3 separate regions of the Homo sapiens genome follow, and all the other regions are linked to region 3. The links are contacts of gene promoters, found by promoter capture Hi-C in human tissues and cell types (Jung and others, 2019). All regions are on one chromosome and are shown on one strand. The core of a region is centred on a gene start or on the middle of the fragment in contact, and the rest is flanking DNA. Distances in the headings are between cores, read along the strand shown.

Region 1 (2,792 bases), core at 151-2,650, 37 kb after region 3:
GTATTGTCCAACGTTTCCCTGCACTGAGACAGCCTGAGATATGGCCTCATGGGAAAAGAAAGACCTTACCATACCCCAGCCCGACACCCGTAAGGGGTCTGTGCTGAGAAGGATTAGTGAAACAGGGAGGCCTCTTTGCAGTTGAGATAAGAGGAAGGCTTCTGTCTCCTGCTCGTCCCTGGGAATGGAATGTCTTGGTGTAAAGCTGACCATTCCCATTTGTTCTATTCTGAGACAGGAAAAAACCGCCCTGTGGCTGGAGGTGAGATGTGCTGGCAGCAATACTGCTCTGTTACTCTTTGCTACACTGAGATGTTTGGGTAAAGAGAAACATAAATCTAGTCTACGTGCACATCTGGGCACAGTACCTTTCCTTGAACTTATTCATGATACAGATTCCTTTGCTCACATGTTTCCCTGCTGACCTTCTCCCCACTTGTTGCCCTGCTACACTCCCCTCGCTAAGATAGTAAAAATAATGATCAATAAATACTGAGGGAACTCAGAGACGGGCACTGGTGCGGGTCCTCCATATGCTGAGCGCCGGTTCCCTGGGCCCACTGTTCTTTCTCTGTAGTTTGTCTCTGTGTCTTATTTCTTTTCTCAGTCTCTCGTCCCACCTGACAAGAAATACCCACAGGTGTGGAGGGGCTGGCCTCCTTCAGAGCCCAGGAGGCAAAGATTGCAGTGAGCCAAGATCACACCACTGTACTCCAGCCTGGGTGACAGAACAAGACCTTGTCTCAAAATAAATAAATAAATAATAAAATTGCAATCCTGCCCCACCCCCCTCCCTATTTTTCTCCATAGGACTATTTCTATGCCCTTCACTCTATGCCCTCCTTCTCCATTTGTTTACCATTTTTATTTATTTTGGGTTTATCTTCTCATCATAGCTTCTTACAAACATAAGTATATATGTATATATTTTCATGTCCCTTCCTGCTTCTTGTACTAAAGGTGCATACTATAAGCACCATTCTGAACCAGTTATCCTGGAGCTACATGATCTTCATCTCTTTCCTTTTCATAGATGCATAGTCCTCCATCACGTGGATGTATCATAGTTTTTTAAAACCAGTCCCACACTGATAATTTTGGGTTGCTCTCAGTCTTTTGCTATTGCAATAATACCATAATAAATAGCTTTGTGCATAGATCTTACACATCTTACCCCACAATTTTGAAAATTAAGTAATTTCTCCAACAACTGAGTGAGACTGGTGAATGAGAATGTTATTTTTGCAGCATTATTATTATTTTTGAGACAGTCTTGCTCTGTCGCCCAGGCTGAAGTGCAATGGCATGACCTCGGCTCACTGCAACCTCTGGGTTCAAGCAATTCTCCTGCCTCAGCCTCCCTAGTAGCTGGGATTACAGGCACCTGCCACCATGCCCAGCTAATTTTTCTATTTTTTAGTAGAGATGGGGTTTCACCATGTTGGCCAGGCTGGTCTCGAACTCCTGACCTCAAGTGATCCACCCACCACAGCCTTCCAAAGTGCTGGGATTACAGGCGTGAGCCACCATGGCTGGCCCAGGCTACACCTACTCTTAAAAGGGACCTTGTGTAACATGATGATGTAGCTTTGAATGCATCAAAGGTGAAGAGATAGAAAGGCATGTCTTTTATCTTGGCCGTTGGAGAGGTTGGGGAAATTCATTTTCTCTCATGTAGCCTGCAATCCCACCTTTGAAAGCAATACACACACTCCAGCTGTCCTACAGTATACACATACCTTCTCCCTGCCAGGATAAATACATTTAATACCATGATCTGCCCTGCTGTTATTGCACAGCAGAATTTTGGTGGTTTGCTCATGAGTTGTCTATAAATGATACTATAACATGATTTGAACCCAATATTCAAGTACTTAGTAAGCAGAGTTGCTAACTGATACCTGCATCTGACTCAAGGTGGACTAAATACCAGGCCATACCTCTTGATCAACTGACATCGGCTGCAAAAATAGGCAGTAGAAAAAGCTCAAACAATTTGGGAGGATTGTTGTGGTAGGGAAGAGGAAACAAGTCCTCTAATAATGCAGGTAGACAAACATGCCCACAGACAAAGCAGCTCTGTTGGCCACTACTTCGTTTGTAGGTGCCCCATGTGAGGTAAACCATACCCACTGATAACAGGGAGCCACCTGTGCCATACCCGACTATTCGTCTCTAACCTGCCCTGCCCAACACCTTGCCCTCATTTCTCTAGAATAGAGTGAAGATGTGCGATGAAGGCTATCTGGTTTCTAGGAACCATGGGAAGATAGAATCTGTTTACACAATGGTAAAGCTCCCTTCTGCATTAGGGAGCTTTGCAGATTGGGCTCTAGTCGAGCAGATCTGGTTACCAACTGGTCTCAATGCTGGAAACTCACAACCCTGCCAAGGCACAGAATCCCTAACCCTTAAATGCAACTGTTTCTTCCAAATGCCCTGCTACAAAGGGCATGGAAACAAAGGTTGCAACTGCCTGCAACCACTTCCTTTTGGCATTCACAAAGAATCACCCTGTCATCTAGCATTGAACCCAGTGCGCCTGGCTTTCATTTGTTTCCCTGGCTCTTTACTTTGGCTTTTCAGATCTGCTTCTAATCTTATTTCAGGACCCGTTCAAATTTTTCTTCTCTGATGTATAGGCCCAGGACTGTTGCCAGTAAATTCTGACTCTCAAATCTTCTTGCTTTGTTGATTGTGGTGGTACTACTACCCTGGGTAAAAGACTCCTTCCGCTAACTTCTGCTCCCAAAAACTCCTACAGGCTGGGCTAGTTCACTAACCTTTGCAAC
Region 2 (2,700 bases), core at 42-2,541, 48 kb before region 3:
AATTTCTGTATTTTTAGTACAGATAGGGTTTCACTATGTTGGCCAGGCTGGTCTCAAACTCCTGACCTCGTGATCCGCCCACCTCGGCCTCCCAAAGTGCTGGGATTACAGCCACTGCGCCCAGCCCAGACCAGGAATTTAAGAGAACTATGATGAATATGCTAAGGGATCTAATGGATAAAGTAGAAAGCATGCAAGAACAGATGGGCAATGCAGAGAGATGGAAATTCTAAGAAAGAATAAAAAGTAAATGCTAGAGATCAAAAACATTGTAACAGAAATAAAGAATGCCTTTGACGGGCTCATTAGTAATGTGCATAAGGCTGAGGAAAGACTCTCTCAGCTTAAAGATATGTCAATAGAAACTTCTGAAATGAAAAAGCAAAGAGAAAATAGTCCGAAAAAAAAACAAAAAGAAACTCAGGATGCTGAGTTGGGAGGATCACTCAAGCCCAAGAGGCAGAGGTTGCAGAGAGCCAAGATCGGGCCACTGCACTCCAGCCTGGGCAACAGAGCAAGACCCTGTCTCTTTAAAAAAAAAAAAAAAAAGCTGGGCACAGTGGCTCACGCCTGTAATTCCAGGACTTTGGGAGGCCAAGGCAGGCAGATCACTTGAGGTCACGAGTTTGAGACCAGCCTGGCAAACATGGCGAACCCTGCCTCTACTAAAAATATAAAAATTAGCCAGGCATGGTGGTGCATGCCTGTAGTCCCAGCTACTTGGGAGGCTGAGGCAGGAGAATCACTTGAATCCAGGAGGCAGAAGTTGCAGTGAACTGAGATTGTGCCACTGCATTCTAGCCTGGGCAAACTCCGTCTCAAAAAAAAAAAAAATCATCAAAATTAAAAGTCTGTTCTTTGAAAAGATCAATAAAATCAATAAGCCTCTAACCAGGCTAAAAAAAAAAAGAGTTGACAAATTATTAATATCAGAAGTGAAAGATACCTCTTTCACTTCTGATATTAATAATTACATATCCCATGAACATTAAGAGGTTAAGAAAGGAATATTATGAACAACTATGCCCAGGCATTTGACAAACTAGATGAAATGGGCAAATTCCTTGAAAGATACAATCTGCCAAAACATATGAAGAGAAACAGACAATCTGAATGGGCCAATATCTATTAAAGAACTTGAATCAGCCAGGCATGGTGGCTCACGCCTGTAATCCTAGCACTTTGGGAGGACGAGGTGAGCGGATCATGAGGTCAGGAGTTCGAAAACAGCCTGACCAACATGGCGAATCCCTACTTAAAATACAAAAATTAGCCGGGCGTGGTGGCAAGTGCCTGTAATCCCAGCTACTCAGGAGGCTGAGGCAGGAGAACTGCTTTAACCCAGGAGGTGGAGCGTGCAGTGAGCCGAGGTCACGCCACTGCACTCCAGCCTGGGTGACAGAGCAAGACTCTGTCTCAAAAAAAAAAAAAAGTTGAATCAATGATTAATAATTTTCTGTAACAGAAAGCATCAGGCCCAGATGAGTTCACTGGTGAATTCTATCAAATATTTAAGGAAGAAATTATTCTGACTCTCTAATCTCTTTCAGAAGATAGAAGCAGAGGGAATACTTCCTAGCTCATTCTGTGAGGTCAATATTACCTTAATATCAAAACAAGACAAAGAAAAGAAAACTACAGACCAATATTTCTCATGAATATTAATGCAAAAATACTCAACACCATATTAACAAATCAAATACGACAATGTGTAAAAAGAATTGTATGCCATAACCAGGGCCAGGCTTGGTGGCTCACACATGTAATCCCAGCACTTTGGGAGGCCAAGGGGGCAGATCTCCTGAGGTCAGGAATTCGAGACCAGCCTGGTCAACATGTAAAAACCCCATCTCTACTAAAAATACAAACATTAGCTGGGCGTGGTGGTGCACATCTGTAGTCCCAGCTACTTGGGAGGCTGAGGCAGGAGAATTGCTTGGACCTGGGAGGTGGAGGTTGCAGTGACCTGAGATCGCGTCATTGCACTCCAGCCTGGATGACGAGGGAAACTTCAACTCAAAAAACAAAACAAAACAAAACAGGCTGGGTGCAGTGGCTCACGCCAGTAATCCCAGCACTTTGGGAGGCTGAGGCAGGTGGATCACGAGGTCAGGAGTTCAAGACCAGCCTGGCCAACATAGTGAAACCCTGTCTCTACTAAAAATACAAAAATTAGCTGGGCATGGTGGCACGCACCTGTAGTCCCAGCTACTCCAGAGGCTGAGGCAGGAGAATCGCTGGAACCTGGGAGGTGGAGGTTGCTGTGAGCTGGGATCACGCCACTGCACTCCAGCTTGGGTGACAGAGCGAGACTTCGTCTCAAAAACAAAACAAAACAAAAGAATTATATACCGTGACCAAATGGAATTACCCAAGGTATGCAAGCCTGGTTCAACATTCAAAAACTCAATCACTATAATCCATCACATCAACAGAGAAAGAAAAATCACAAGATTACATCAATAGATACAAAAAAAAATTGACTAAGTCCGATACCCATTTATGATAAAAACTCTCACCAAACTAGGACTAGAAGAGAACTTCCTCTATTTGATAAAGAACATTAACAAAACCCTATAGCTAACACCTATTAATGGTGAGAAACAAGAAGCTTTCTCAGCTCAGAAACAAGGTAAGGGTGTCCTCTTTCACTTCTCTTTTTCAGTGTTGTGTCCGGAATTGGTGGGTTCTTGGTCTCAC
Region 3 (2,700 bases), core at 49-2,548:
TTCCCTCTCGGTATCATCCTTACTCAATTACAAATGATCAAGGGCGGTACTGCCAGAGTCACCTCGAGAGGCCCTGTTCTCTGCCACCCAGGCTGTTTTGTAGTCTCCATTCCAAATTGTCGTTACTCCGGTTTACCCCGTGGATGGCGTTTAAGACTTTTCTTAAATTTGAAATTCACAGAACCATTTTAAAGTGAACAATTCAGTGGCATTTAGTACCTTCGCAGTGTTGTGCAACTTCCACCTCTATCTAGCTGCAAAACATTTTCTTTTCTTTTTTTTTTTGGAGACAGAGTCTCGCTCTGTTGCCCAGACTGGAGTGCAGTGGCGTGATCTTGGCTCACTGCAACTTCTGTCTCCCGGGTTCAAGCAATTCTCCTGCCTCAGCCTCCCGAGTAGCTGGGATTACAGGCACACGCCACCCGCCTGGCTAATTTTTTGTATTTTAGTACAGACGGGGATTTACCATATTGCCCAGGCTGGTCTCAAACTCCTGAGCTCAGGCAATCCGCCCGCCTTGTCCTCCCAAAGTGCTAGGATTACAGGCGTGAGCCAACGCGGCCGGCCTTGTAAAACATTTTCATCACACAAAAGAAAACCTTCTACCCATTAAGCAGTTACTCCTTCCTCTTCTCAGCCCCTGTCAACCACCAATTTGCTTTCTATCCTATGGATTTAACTGTCTGGATATTTCATAGAAATAGAATCACATAATGTATGACCTTTTCTGTTTGGCTTCTTTCTATTAGCCTAATGTTTTTGAGGTTCATTCCTGTTGAAGCATGTATCAGTTCTTCATTCCTTTTTTGGGATGAATAATGTTCCATAATTTATTTATCCTTTCGTCTGTTGATGAACATTTGAGTTGTGTCCACATCTTGGCTATTGTGAATAGTGCTGCCATGTACATTCGTATGTAAGTATTTGAGTATCTGTTGGGTGTATACCTATGAATGGAATTGCTGGGTCTTTTGACAATTCTGTATTTAACTTTTTGAGAAACTGCCAACATTTTCACAGGGGTTGTACCATTTCACATTCCCACCAGCAATCTACAAGGATTCTAATTTCTCCACATCCTGCATTTAAGACTTGCAAAGCTGAATTAATCACAGGATGAGGAAGTGGCTTCTCTGAAACATTTTCCTCTTTCACATTTTAAACTTTCTCTTTCATACATGACATGAAACACAGCCTACGCACGAAAGTGACTAGGAGGAAGGATATTATAAAGTGATGCAAACAGAAATTCCACCAGCCTCCATGTATCATCATGTGTCATAACTCAGTCAAGCTCAGTGAGCATTCTCAGCACATTGCCTCAACAGCTTCAAGGTGAGCCAGCTCAAGACTTTGCTCTCCACCAGGCAGAAGATGACAGACTGTGAATTTGGATATATTTACAGGCTGGCTCAGGACTATCTGCAGTGCGTCCTACAGATACCACAACCTGGATCAGGTCCAAGCAAAACGTCCAGAGTGCTACAAAATGTTGCGTTCTCAGTCCAAAAAGAAGTGGAAAAGAATCTGAAGTCATGCTTGGACAATGTTAATGTTGTGTCCGTAGACACTGCCAGAACACTATTCAACCAAGTGATGGAAAAGGAGTTTGAAGACGGCATCATTAACTGGGGAAGAATTGTAACCATATTTGCATTTGAAGGTATTCTCATCAAGAAACTTCTACGACAGCAAATTGCCCCGGATGTGGATACCTATAAGGAGATTTCATATTTTGTTGCGGAGTTCATAATGAATAACACAGGAGAATGGATAAGGCAAAACGGAGGCTGGGTATGTGTGATGGAAAAATTCTTCATTGTTCTTTCCTGTGAAATAGAAATTGAGAATTTCCTTGCTAGTTAAAACAACAACAAAACACTTTACCTAAGAATACTATTTTCCTTGGGTGGTTTGTTTTAATTTTTAAAATAAAAATATACTTTCTGGCTTATTTCCAATGAATCCTTGAACTTGAACTTTATAGTTGGAAAGCACTTATGTTTTCAGTTTTTATTCTTAACAGTATAAATTACAGTAGTGAGCTTTGGGGATTAATAAAGCACCTCTCTCATGCAGCTTCACAATCAGCTGTGCACACACTCTAATCTAGTACTTAGCTTTTGCTAGGGTTGTCATGACAGTACAGACAGTACAGAAATTTCTACAATCAGCACAGAAAGTTGCTATCAGATGCTGTTATTTTTAGGTATTTATGGGTTGCAAAAGACAGGTGTAAATTTTTGTAAGTTCATCGCTTACAAATTGGTGTTTTTCAGTTTACTAATACATAATAAATAGTAACATATATTAATATATAGCAAATTACATTACATATAATATATAACACATTATTACTAATAATAAATTCCGGGCTGTTAAAGTTTGTTGATTAAAACATAATATACTGTATGACCAGCAAGAACCTTTATTCAAGAATTTTCAAATAAAAATTTACTTTATTATCAGTGCCTAAAAAAGCCAAGACTATGTAGAGGCCTGTGTTGAAACTCATGTTGGTAAAAAGCCTGACACAGCTGGATGTATATGGTTTCCTTTATATTCCAATATACTTAATAATTATTTTTTTAAAGCACTTAAGTGTTCATTGATCCTCTCTCCAACGGCCTTCACCTCTCCCAAGAGGTAACCACTGTTATCAATTATTTTGCATGCAAAACATGCCTACTGAATCTATCC

Evidence for each region. The method cuts DNA at HindIII sites, captures the fragments that hold promoters and counts their contacts. A contact is called where the count stands out against the background at its distance.
Region 1: a fragment that was not itself captured here is called in contact with the fragment with the promoter of BCL2A1 in region 3 in 1 of the 25 tissues and cell types used here (adrenal gland).
Region 2: a contact is called between a fragment that was not itself captured here and the fragment with the promoter of BCL2A1 in region 3, in 1 of the 25 tissues and cell types used here (lymphoblastoid cells).

Annotation. Positions count from the first base shown.
Region 1 is chr15:79,933,120-79,935,911 of GRCh38, reverse strand. No RefSeq gene overlaps it. Among named protein-coding and RNA genes, the nearest start is that of ST20, 11 kb to the right of the region's middle. The HindIII fragment of the contact is 4,458 bases long and covers 1-2,792 here.
Region 2 is chr15:80,017,801-80,020,500 of GRCh38, reverse strand. No RefSeq gene overlaps it. Among named protein-coding and RNA genes, the nearest start is that of ZFAND6, 41 kb to the left of the region's middle. The HindIII fragment of the contact is 3,110 bases long and covers 1-2,700 here.
Region 3 is chr15:79,969,794-79,972,493 of GRCh38, reverse strand. BCL2A1 (BCL2 related protein A1) reads left to right here and starts at 1,298. Exons shown (of 2, transcript NM_004049.4): 1 at 1,298-1,794. The coding sequence starts at 1,375. RefSeq lists an enhancer at 675-1,874. The HindIII fragment of the contact is 21,858 bases long and covers 1-2,700 here.